Linked DNA regions of Homo sapiens: regions 2 and 3 are each linked to region 1. Evidence: promoter capture Hi-C in human tissues and cell types (Jung and others, 2019). All regions are on one chromosome and are shown on one strand. Each heading gives the region's core, a stretch centred on a gene start or on the middle of the fragment in contact. The rest is flanking DNA. Distances are from core to core; before and after follow the strand shown.

Region 1 (2,714 bases), core at 84-2,583:
CTTATGTCTTGAATGGTTTAGCTGTGGCCCTAGCTGGAGACTAGAGGATAAACTGAGACTCCTCGTCAAATCATAAACCTAGTTGGTGGCTGGGCAGAGATTTCTTGCATCATCTGTTGTAACCCTTTCTTCTTATAACCACCTAGTTTCTGCCCACCTTTGAGGAGGGGTATTTGGGATAACTTTTTGTAAATTGATGGTAAATGCAAATATAGTAATGTCAACTTTAGATCAGTGACAAAATTTTAACTTGCTTCTCCACTAAATCGAGACTGAAAAACCTCAAAACCTATGGACAAGATGTTTTTCAAAACTCCACTTCGGTTTACAGGTGTGTGCTTGGGGCAACCAAAACAAAGATTACTGCGATGATGGCAGCCACCCAGGCTCAGATAAAAGAGGCGCCTCTCAGCGTGCTTTGCGGTGCCAGCCCACCTGAGGTCAGACTCAATTCTCCCCACTTAGGGCAGGGATAACAGAGCCCCCGAGCCTGGGTTGGAAGTCCGTACTACCGTTTTCCTAGTCTTGGGCTTTGGGGTCAGCGGTCCTCCAGGCTTGCTCCGGTTTGGGTCCTGGGGTGACTGATGGCTGGGTGCGGACAGGTGGCCGCGGCACTGTCCCCATCGATTCACCACGCCGCTCTCGGCCCTAAGGGGCAACACTTCGCTCCGACTCTACCAAGTAAGTGTCCGGGGTGGGCAACCAGACGCAAAGCGCAGCGGGATCGGTTCCCGCCAGGGCTGCTCCCGCCGCCTCCGCGGACCCAGCCCCTCCCGCGCCGCGACTCGCCCAGCCTGGGGAGGAAGGGTCCGTCCAGGGCTCCCAGCCCCGCCGGGGGGAGGAGGAGGCGGCGGGACCCTGTCCCGGGGCTTCTTCCTGCTTCCCCCAGCCTCCACTCCCGCCGCCTTCCCGTCCGGTGGCTCCATTTTTCAGGCGCGTTCTCCTCAGGGAGAAGGCGTCCGTCCCCGAGCCTTCCCCTCGTAGTCCCCTGGGGGCCCCGCTCCCCATCCTCTAGGCTCTTGCAGCGCCCCCTCAGGCCGCCGCCCCAATCCCGCCCCCGGGCTCCGGCGGGGTACTGGGCGCAGGTCACCTCAGCGCGGGAGGCCGGCGCGGCGGCGGGTGGCTCCGAGAGGTGCCGCGCCCGCTCCCGGGGAAGGCGCTGTGGCGCGGGGCCGCCCCCTTGCGCCCCGGGCGCCGGCTGCGTCCCGGCCTCCTCCTCCTCTTCCTCCGCCCTCCTTGGCTGGGAAAGTGGGAGGCGGCGGCGGCGGCGTGGTGTGTGTGCGCGCGTGAGGGGGGCAGCAGAGAGGAGTCTCCCGGTGCCGCCGCGGCGTCAGAGACACTGCGAGCGGCGAGCGCGGTGGGGCCGCATCTGCATCAGCCGCCGCAGCCGCTGCGGGGCCGCGAACAAAGAGGAGGAGCCGAGGCGCGAGGTAGGGCGCGCGGCCGGCGCGGGGTCGACGGGGACCCAGCGTCGGCGGACCCCTAGCCGCGGAGAAGGCGGTGGTCTCGACATTCCCCCATCCCCGCCCTGGGTCGGTCTCTCTCTCCCCTCGCCCTCGGGTCCCCGTGGGCCGGGAATCAGGACCTGCGGAAGCGGAGCAGCCCGCGGCCTCTGCCTTCTCCGGGCAGGAAGCTGCCAGGGCTCCGTGCCGCGGTCTCCCCGGGCGCAGCCCAGCACCCCCTGCTTCCCGGATGGCGCGGTCTCTCTGGGGACTGTCGCCTTATCTTGGCTGGGCTAGAAAGCTGCTTCCCCGTGGCACTCTGTGGGGCTGAGTTTCGCAACTTAAGCCTGCGCATTTATTTTTAAGTCCTTGAAAACTTCCCGCAGTCGTGTAGAGGGATTTGTGTCCCCGGCCTGAGCTAAAGGGAGGCGGAGATGAGGGAGGCTGTAGGGTGAGATCCCCACGCCGGGACCGGCCGGGCCGCAGCCCCAGGCCGCGACCGGCTCCTGCCGGGTGCCGCCGACACCTGGCCCCGGGGTGTGTCTGCGGCGAGCGGCCGCCGCGCCTCCCTGCGGGCTTGGGAGTACCTGTGCTTGGCGCCGTGGGAGCGGGGGTGCAGCCCTGGGGCTCCCCCGCTCCGGCTTTGTCAAGAACAGCTGTTAATGCTCCCAGCCAAATCTTTTTACTCCCGTTCTCCTGGGCATTCACTTTTACATTTATTTTGGCGGTGGGGGGAGAGCGGCGCAGTAAGTGGCTTGCTTTTTCCTGAATGGCCTCATTTTCATATGCCCACAGTTTCCAGTCCAACCTTCCATTGTCGAATTCTTTTGGTGATAATTTTGCCAGCTTTTCTGAATGGGATTAGGACAGGCCGTTCAGAAATGTGTTTCAGAGTTTATCAACTACTGCCCTGAAGGGCGCTTTTCTGTTTTAGCTGCTTTCAAGCAAATCTGTGTCTTTTAGAATTGTCAACCTTCAGCTCTTTTTGGTTGGGCAAAATTAAACAGTTCTATTTTTAATAACAGCGAAGAAACATATGTATTTAATATTGGGATCATTTACCACGAGCGATTACATGAGGCATGGTTTCTTAAACGCTAAAGTGGCTTAAAAAAGGGAATTTAGTTGGATATAAAAGTAAATTTCAGGTAGAGGAAACTTTCAATGGCCTCTGTCAGCTTCTCCTATGAGTTGAAGACTTTATTAAGGCAGCTGATACCACTTTCAGAGCTTAAGAAATTATGTTCCTTATTGCACTTCATAAATCCTTCT
Region 2 (2,714 bases), core at 158-2,657, 110 kb after region 1:
GAATATGTATTAAAAATGTAATTGCTATGTGAATTCATCTAAAAGGGAAAGCATCCAGCTGTGGAGAGACAAATGCATTGTCAGGTGCCCCATTTCACTGGTAAAGAGGCTTTTTACACTGGGTAATGATGACGATGATGACAATGATGATGGTTCACACATGTAGCATGTACTGCCTGCTGGGTCATTTAAGGTGTGGCTTATATATATGAATTCACTAAATCCTCACAACAGCCCAAATGAAGAAAGAGGCACAGCGAGTTAACCTGCCCCAAATCACAGAGCTAGTAAATGGGATTCACACCCTGCAATCTGGCTCTGGAGTTTGTGCTTCCAGCCAGTACCCTATACTGCCTGATCAGAGTCTCTTTAGCTATTGTACAAGAGATTTAGTATAGTACTTGCCAGTTCTCTCTCTTTCTCTCTCTCTATCTCTCTCTCTCTGTCGATTGCTGTGTTTTACTATTATTTCCTCAAACCTATTTTTGGAAATGTTGTTAAGCTGTGATAACTAGCCTTGAAGAAATACATAATATAGTGGAGAATATAATGAGGCATCTGTGAGGGTAGAGAAAAATTAGAATTCTTCTTTCCCCAGAGTTGGACACTAATGTAATGTGACCAGAGTACACAGCGTTGTGAATGACCAGAGTTCTTGGTGGGCATTTCCTTTCTGGGCACAGCAGAATTGCTTACAAGATTAGGTCAAGGCAGAGTAGCAGAAGTGACGCCATTGGAGGCCAGATCTTAAGACAGAGTCTGAAAGTCAGAGGTCACAGGAGGGTGTCATTACTCTGGAAGGCTCAACCCCTGTCTTCCCAGGACATTGGCCTCTCAGGGAAGTTCTAATTAACCAACTACAACATCACATGGACTAAGCCAAGGCAAGATGATTGCCAATAGCATTTTGAGAGCAATAATTAATATTCCTAAACAAATGTTTAGCAAAACAAATTTGGCTTATAGGTAGTCCAGACTCTAAGTCTCTAAGTAGAAACCAAACTAATTTTTGAAAATTGTGTTATGAAGTTCTGTTGCCATCAAGGGTATAAAACTTTGATCCACTTTTTACAGGTCGGGGGGCAGACAATGATATAAGTAATGCTAACTATATTGCTCTACTTCATTGGAAATATTAAACTTAAAAAATATTCAACTAGTTGAGGCCTGTGCTTTGCACATAGCTCTCTGCCTGCCTGCCCACTTCACGTCCATTTTCCACACTACTGCCAGACTGATCTGTCCGGCACATAGGACCTAAGTCTGTTTGTGCATTAAACATGGAAATGACTTACCATTACCAGAAGAACGCAGCAATAAAAACTCTTTCATATGTTATACAAGACCCTCAATAAACTGGCCTCTGCCTACCTCTCCTTTATGTTCCGTAATTCTTATCCAGGAATACTGCATTCTTTATGCTCCCCAGTCCCGCTGCACATGTGACTTCTTACCTCCAGGTCTTTGCTGGTGCTGACCCCTCTGCCTGGAATGCCCTTACTGTTCTCTTTCATTCATTCACTCCAACCTTGACAACTAATTCCTGTGCATCCTTTAAGACTTGGCTCATGTGTCACTTCCTCCAGGAAGTGTTTCATTTTCCTACTCACCAAACACGAGAGACCTATGTTTTTTGTCCCCATAAATGGTGTGCATATCTTTATCATTACATTTATTACACTGTATTGTAGTTATTACTAATATCCTTTAAGAAAAGAACTGTCTTATTCTTCTTTAAGTCATCAGCACTTGCACATTGCGTGGTAAAAAGTAAAAGCTTGCACTGGGTGCGATGGCTCATGCCTATAATCCCAGCACTTTGGGAGGCCAAGGTGGGTGGATCATTTGAGGTCAGGAGTTTGAGACCAGCCTGGCCAACATGGCGAGACCCCATTTTGTAAAAATACAAAAATGAGCCAGACATAGTGGTGCTTGCCTGCAATCCCAGCTACTTGGGAGGCTGAAGCGTTAAAATCACTCAACCCAGGAGGCAGAGGTTGCAGTGAGCCGAGATTGCACCACTGCACTCCAGCCTGGGCAACAGAGCAAGACTCCGTCTTAAAAAAAAAAAAGAAAAAAAAAGTAAAAGCTTGATAAATGTTTTCTGGAAGAGTGAATAAATAAATAAAGACTCCAAAAGCAGGAGCCCTGTAATCTTGTTCAGGGAATTATTATAGACATGTTGGATTTGCCACTTATCTCCTGAATCAACGATATGCAACAGCGCTCAGAGAGGCCAAAGATCTTAAAGTGACAACTGATGCTCAAGATTGGGCACCCCCAATGCCGTTGAAAAGTATCATATTAATCAGTTGATGATTAAATTGCACTGGGGTTTATGTACACAATTTTAAACTTGTCATTTAAAACAGTAATGCAATGCAGGAACATTAAATTCCTCATCTCTTAGCTTATCAGCCTAACAATGTGCTCTCTTCCAGGAAAGAGCAAAGTTGAATGATCTTAGGCTGTAAAAGACCACGTGTCTATACACTTACAGATTATAAACTTGGGGATGGCAGGTACTGTGACTGTTCACTCACTGCTGTATCCAGGAGTAGACCCTCATTAAATACTCATTGAGCTCATGAAAGAGTAAGACCTACTGCCCACATTAAAAGCAATATCAGGAAGAGATTTGCCTAAAAGCCGAACTCTGATTTTTATCAACCAAGCTTAAAAGCAGTTTAGTAAATTAATAAATTTGGTTTAAA
Region 3 (2,714 bases), core at 134-2,633, 81 kb after region 1:
CTGCGTACATTAATTTTGTATGTTGAAGAGGAGTGGTGACGGTGGGCATCCTTGTCTTGTTCCAGTTCTCAGAGGGAATTATTTCAACTTTTCCCCATTTAGTATTATGTTGGCTGTGGGTTTGTCATAGATGGCTTTTATTACATTGAGGTATGTCCCTTGTAAGGCAATTTTGCCCAGAGTTTTAATCGTAAAGGGATGCTGGATTTTGTCGAATGCTTTTTCTGCATCTATTGAGATGATGATGTGATTTTTGTTTTTAATTCTGTTTATGTGGTGTATCACATTTATTGACTTGTGTGTGTTAAACCATACCTGCATCCCTTTTATGAAACCCACTTGATCATGGTGGATTATCTTCTTGATATGTTGTTGGATTTGGTTAGCTAGTCCTTTGTTAAGGATTTTAGCATCTGTGTTCATCAGGGATATTGGTCTGTAGTTTTCTTTTTTGGTTATATCCTTTCCTGGTTTTGGTATTAGGGTGATGCTGGCTTCATAGAATGATTTAGGGAGGGTTCCCTCTTTCTCTGTCTTGCGGAATAGTGTCAATAGGACTGGGATCAATTCTTCTTTGAATGTCTGGTAGAATTCTGCTGTGAATCCATCTGGTACTGGACTTTTTTTTTTTTGGTAATTTTAAAATGACCATTTCAGTCTCTCTGCTTGTTATTTGTCTGTTCAGGGTATCTAATTCTTCCTGATTAAGCTAGGAGGGTTGTATCTCTCTAGAAATTTATCCATCTCCTCTAGGTTTTCTAGTTTATGCATGTAAAGGTGTTCATAGTAACCTCGAATGATCTTTTGTATTTCTGTGTTGTCAGTTGTAATGTCTCTCGTTTTGTTTCTTATTGAGCTTATTTGGATTTTCTCTCTTCTTTTCTTTGTTAATCTTGCTAATGGTCTATCAATTTGATTTATCTTTTCAAAGAACCAGCTTTTTGTTTCATTTATCTTTTGTATTTTTTGTTTGTTTCAATTTCATTTGCTTCTGCTCTGATCTTGGTTATTTCCTTTCTTTTGCTGGGTTCAGGTTTGGTTTGTTCTTGTTTCTCCGGTTCCTTGAGGTGTGACCTTAGAATGTCTGTGCTGTTTCAGACTTTTTGATGTAGGCGTTTAGGGCTATGAACTTTCCTCTTGGCACTGCCTTTTGCTGTGTCCCATAGGTTTTGATAGTTTGTGTCACTATTGTCACTCAGTTAGAATAATTTTTAAATTTTCATCTTGATTTCATTTTTGACCCAATGATTCAGGAGCAGGTTATTTAATTTCCATGTATTTGCATGGTTTTGAAGGTTCCTTTTGGAGTTGATTTCCAGTTTTATTCCACTGTGGTCTGAGAGAGTGCTTGATATAATTTCATTTGAAAAGGAGGTAACATTTATTGAGTGTAGTAGACTTGAGTAGCATTAGGTGCTTTTCATACTTGATCTCCCTTCAGCCTTACAACCCTTGAATGAAGAAATTAAACTTTGGGGATTCGAGCAACTTGCCCAAGAGCACGCAGCTAACCAGCAGTGGGTCAGAAATAGGAGCCCACGCCTGCCTGGTCCCAAAGCTTGTCTTTTCCTATGCACCCAACTTTCTCTAACAGCATAGGCCACCACTGGTTTTATTTTTAACCTGTGGTATTGCACTGATAGCCGTGGCAACAGAAACTTTATGATTTGAAAGATCTGTAGAGGAGTCCTGGGGAGAGGAAAGCAACAGTGTACCTGCTTTCTTTTCACATGTAGTTCTTTCCTGCCCTGGCATGGATCTTGTTCTGGCTTTTCACCTCCAGAGCTGTGATGAGGAGTAAGAAAACTCATGCTAACCTACCATGACTTCTGCCAGTCTTGGCCCCATGTGGGACTGGTCAAAATAGAATACCAGATATTTTTTAAAAAGTGTTTTAATGGGACTAAAATAACAGCAAAATGTCAGCACGAGGTGCTGCCTGCTTTATGACATAGTTGACTAATTGCAGATAGTTTTTTCTGAATTTAAGTGTTTTGGGAAATGGTATTGTGTTTGCTTATTGTGGTAAATATTCACTTTTGCATCAACGGAAATAGAATTGTGAGAACCACAATGTGCTTCATTTTAGACATTTACAAAAGCTTCTACTTGAACTGACAAGAATCTCTTCAGAATAACTATTTAAGCCCAAACTATCTTTTTTCTACAAGAATGAGACAGTTAAATTGTATCCCTGGAAGTTTTCATTTTCTTTTTTTCTTCTTGTTGTTTTTTGCTTTTGCACTATATTTATCTTTTTGAAGAGGTTGAGGTAACTACATAATTCCATTGAAAAAGTCAGTTACAAGTGGTACATTGATAAACTATTTTCTTAGTGACGCAACCACCAAAATATTATAGAAGAGAAGAGCATGTGTTTAACACTCCTTGCTGAAAGCTTGAAGCACACGCACCAAATTGATAGAGGGAGTATGGAAGAAATTATTTTGCCAATTTTGGCCACTTCTGCATAAAGCTTTTCATTTAGAATTTATTGAACTGCCGTATACAGGTTGAAATTGTTACATAAGCCAGAAAGCTTTAAAGATTTTGAGTGTGTCGATGTTTTTACATGTGGGCTTTTTTCCTGTCAGATTTTCAGTGAATTACAACGATCACAAGTACATTTTCATTAGCTTTTATACTGTAAATAAGGGGAGGGTTTCAGAAATAATTAGAGAAAAGCAGTGTATCGTTTCTTAATGGTTATAGTA

The links. The method cuts DNA at HindIII sites, captures the fragments that hold promoters and counts their contacts. A contact is called where the count stands out against the background at its distance.
Region 2: a contact is called between a fragment that was not itself captured here and the fragment with the promoter of SH3RF1 in region 1, in 5 of the 25 tissues and cell types used here (H1 embryonic stem cells, dorsolateral prefrontal cortex, hippocampus and 2 more).
Region 3: a fragment that was not itself captured here is called in contact with the fragment with the promoter of SH3RF1 in region 1 in 2 of the 25 tissues and cell types used here (dorsolateral prefrontal cortex and stomach).

Annotation. Positions count from the first base shown.
Region 1 is chr4:169,269,575-169,272,288 of GRCh38, reverse strand. It overlaps SH3RF1 (SH3 domain containing ring finger 1), which reads left to right and starts at 1,333. Exons shown (of 12, transcript NM_020870.4): 1 at 1,333-1,430. RefSeq lists silencers at 703-852, 893-1,652, 1,893-2,112. The HindIII fragment of the contact is 13,720 bases long and covers 1-2,714 here.
Region 2 is chr4:169,157,106-169,159,819 of GRCh38, reverse strand. The region is part of intron 2 of SH3RF1 (SH3 domain containing ring finger 1); the gene reads left to right. Among named protein-coding and RNA genes, the nearest start is that of SH3RF1, 110 kb to the left of the region's middle. The HindIII fragment of the contact is 4,174 bases long and covers 1-2,714 here.
Region 3 is chr4:169,188,507-169,191,220 of GRCh38, reverse strand. The region is part of intron 2 of SH3RF1 (SH3 domain containing ring finger 1); the gene reads left to right. Among named protein-coding and RNA genes, the nearest start is that of SH3RF1, 81 kb to the left of the region's middle. The HindIII fragment of the contact is 6,148 bases long and covers 1-2,714 here.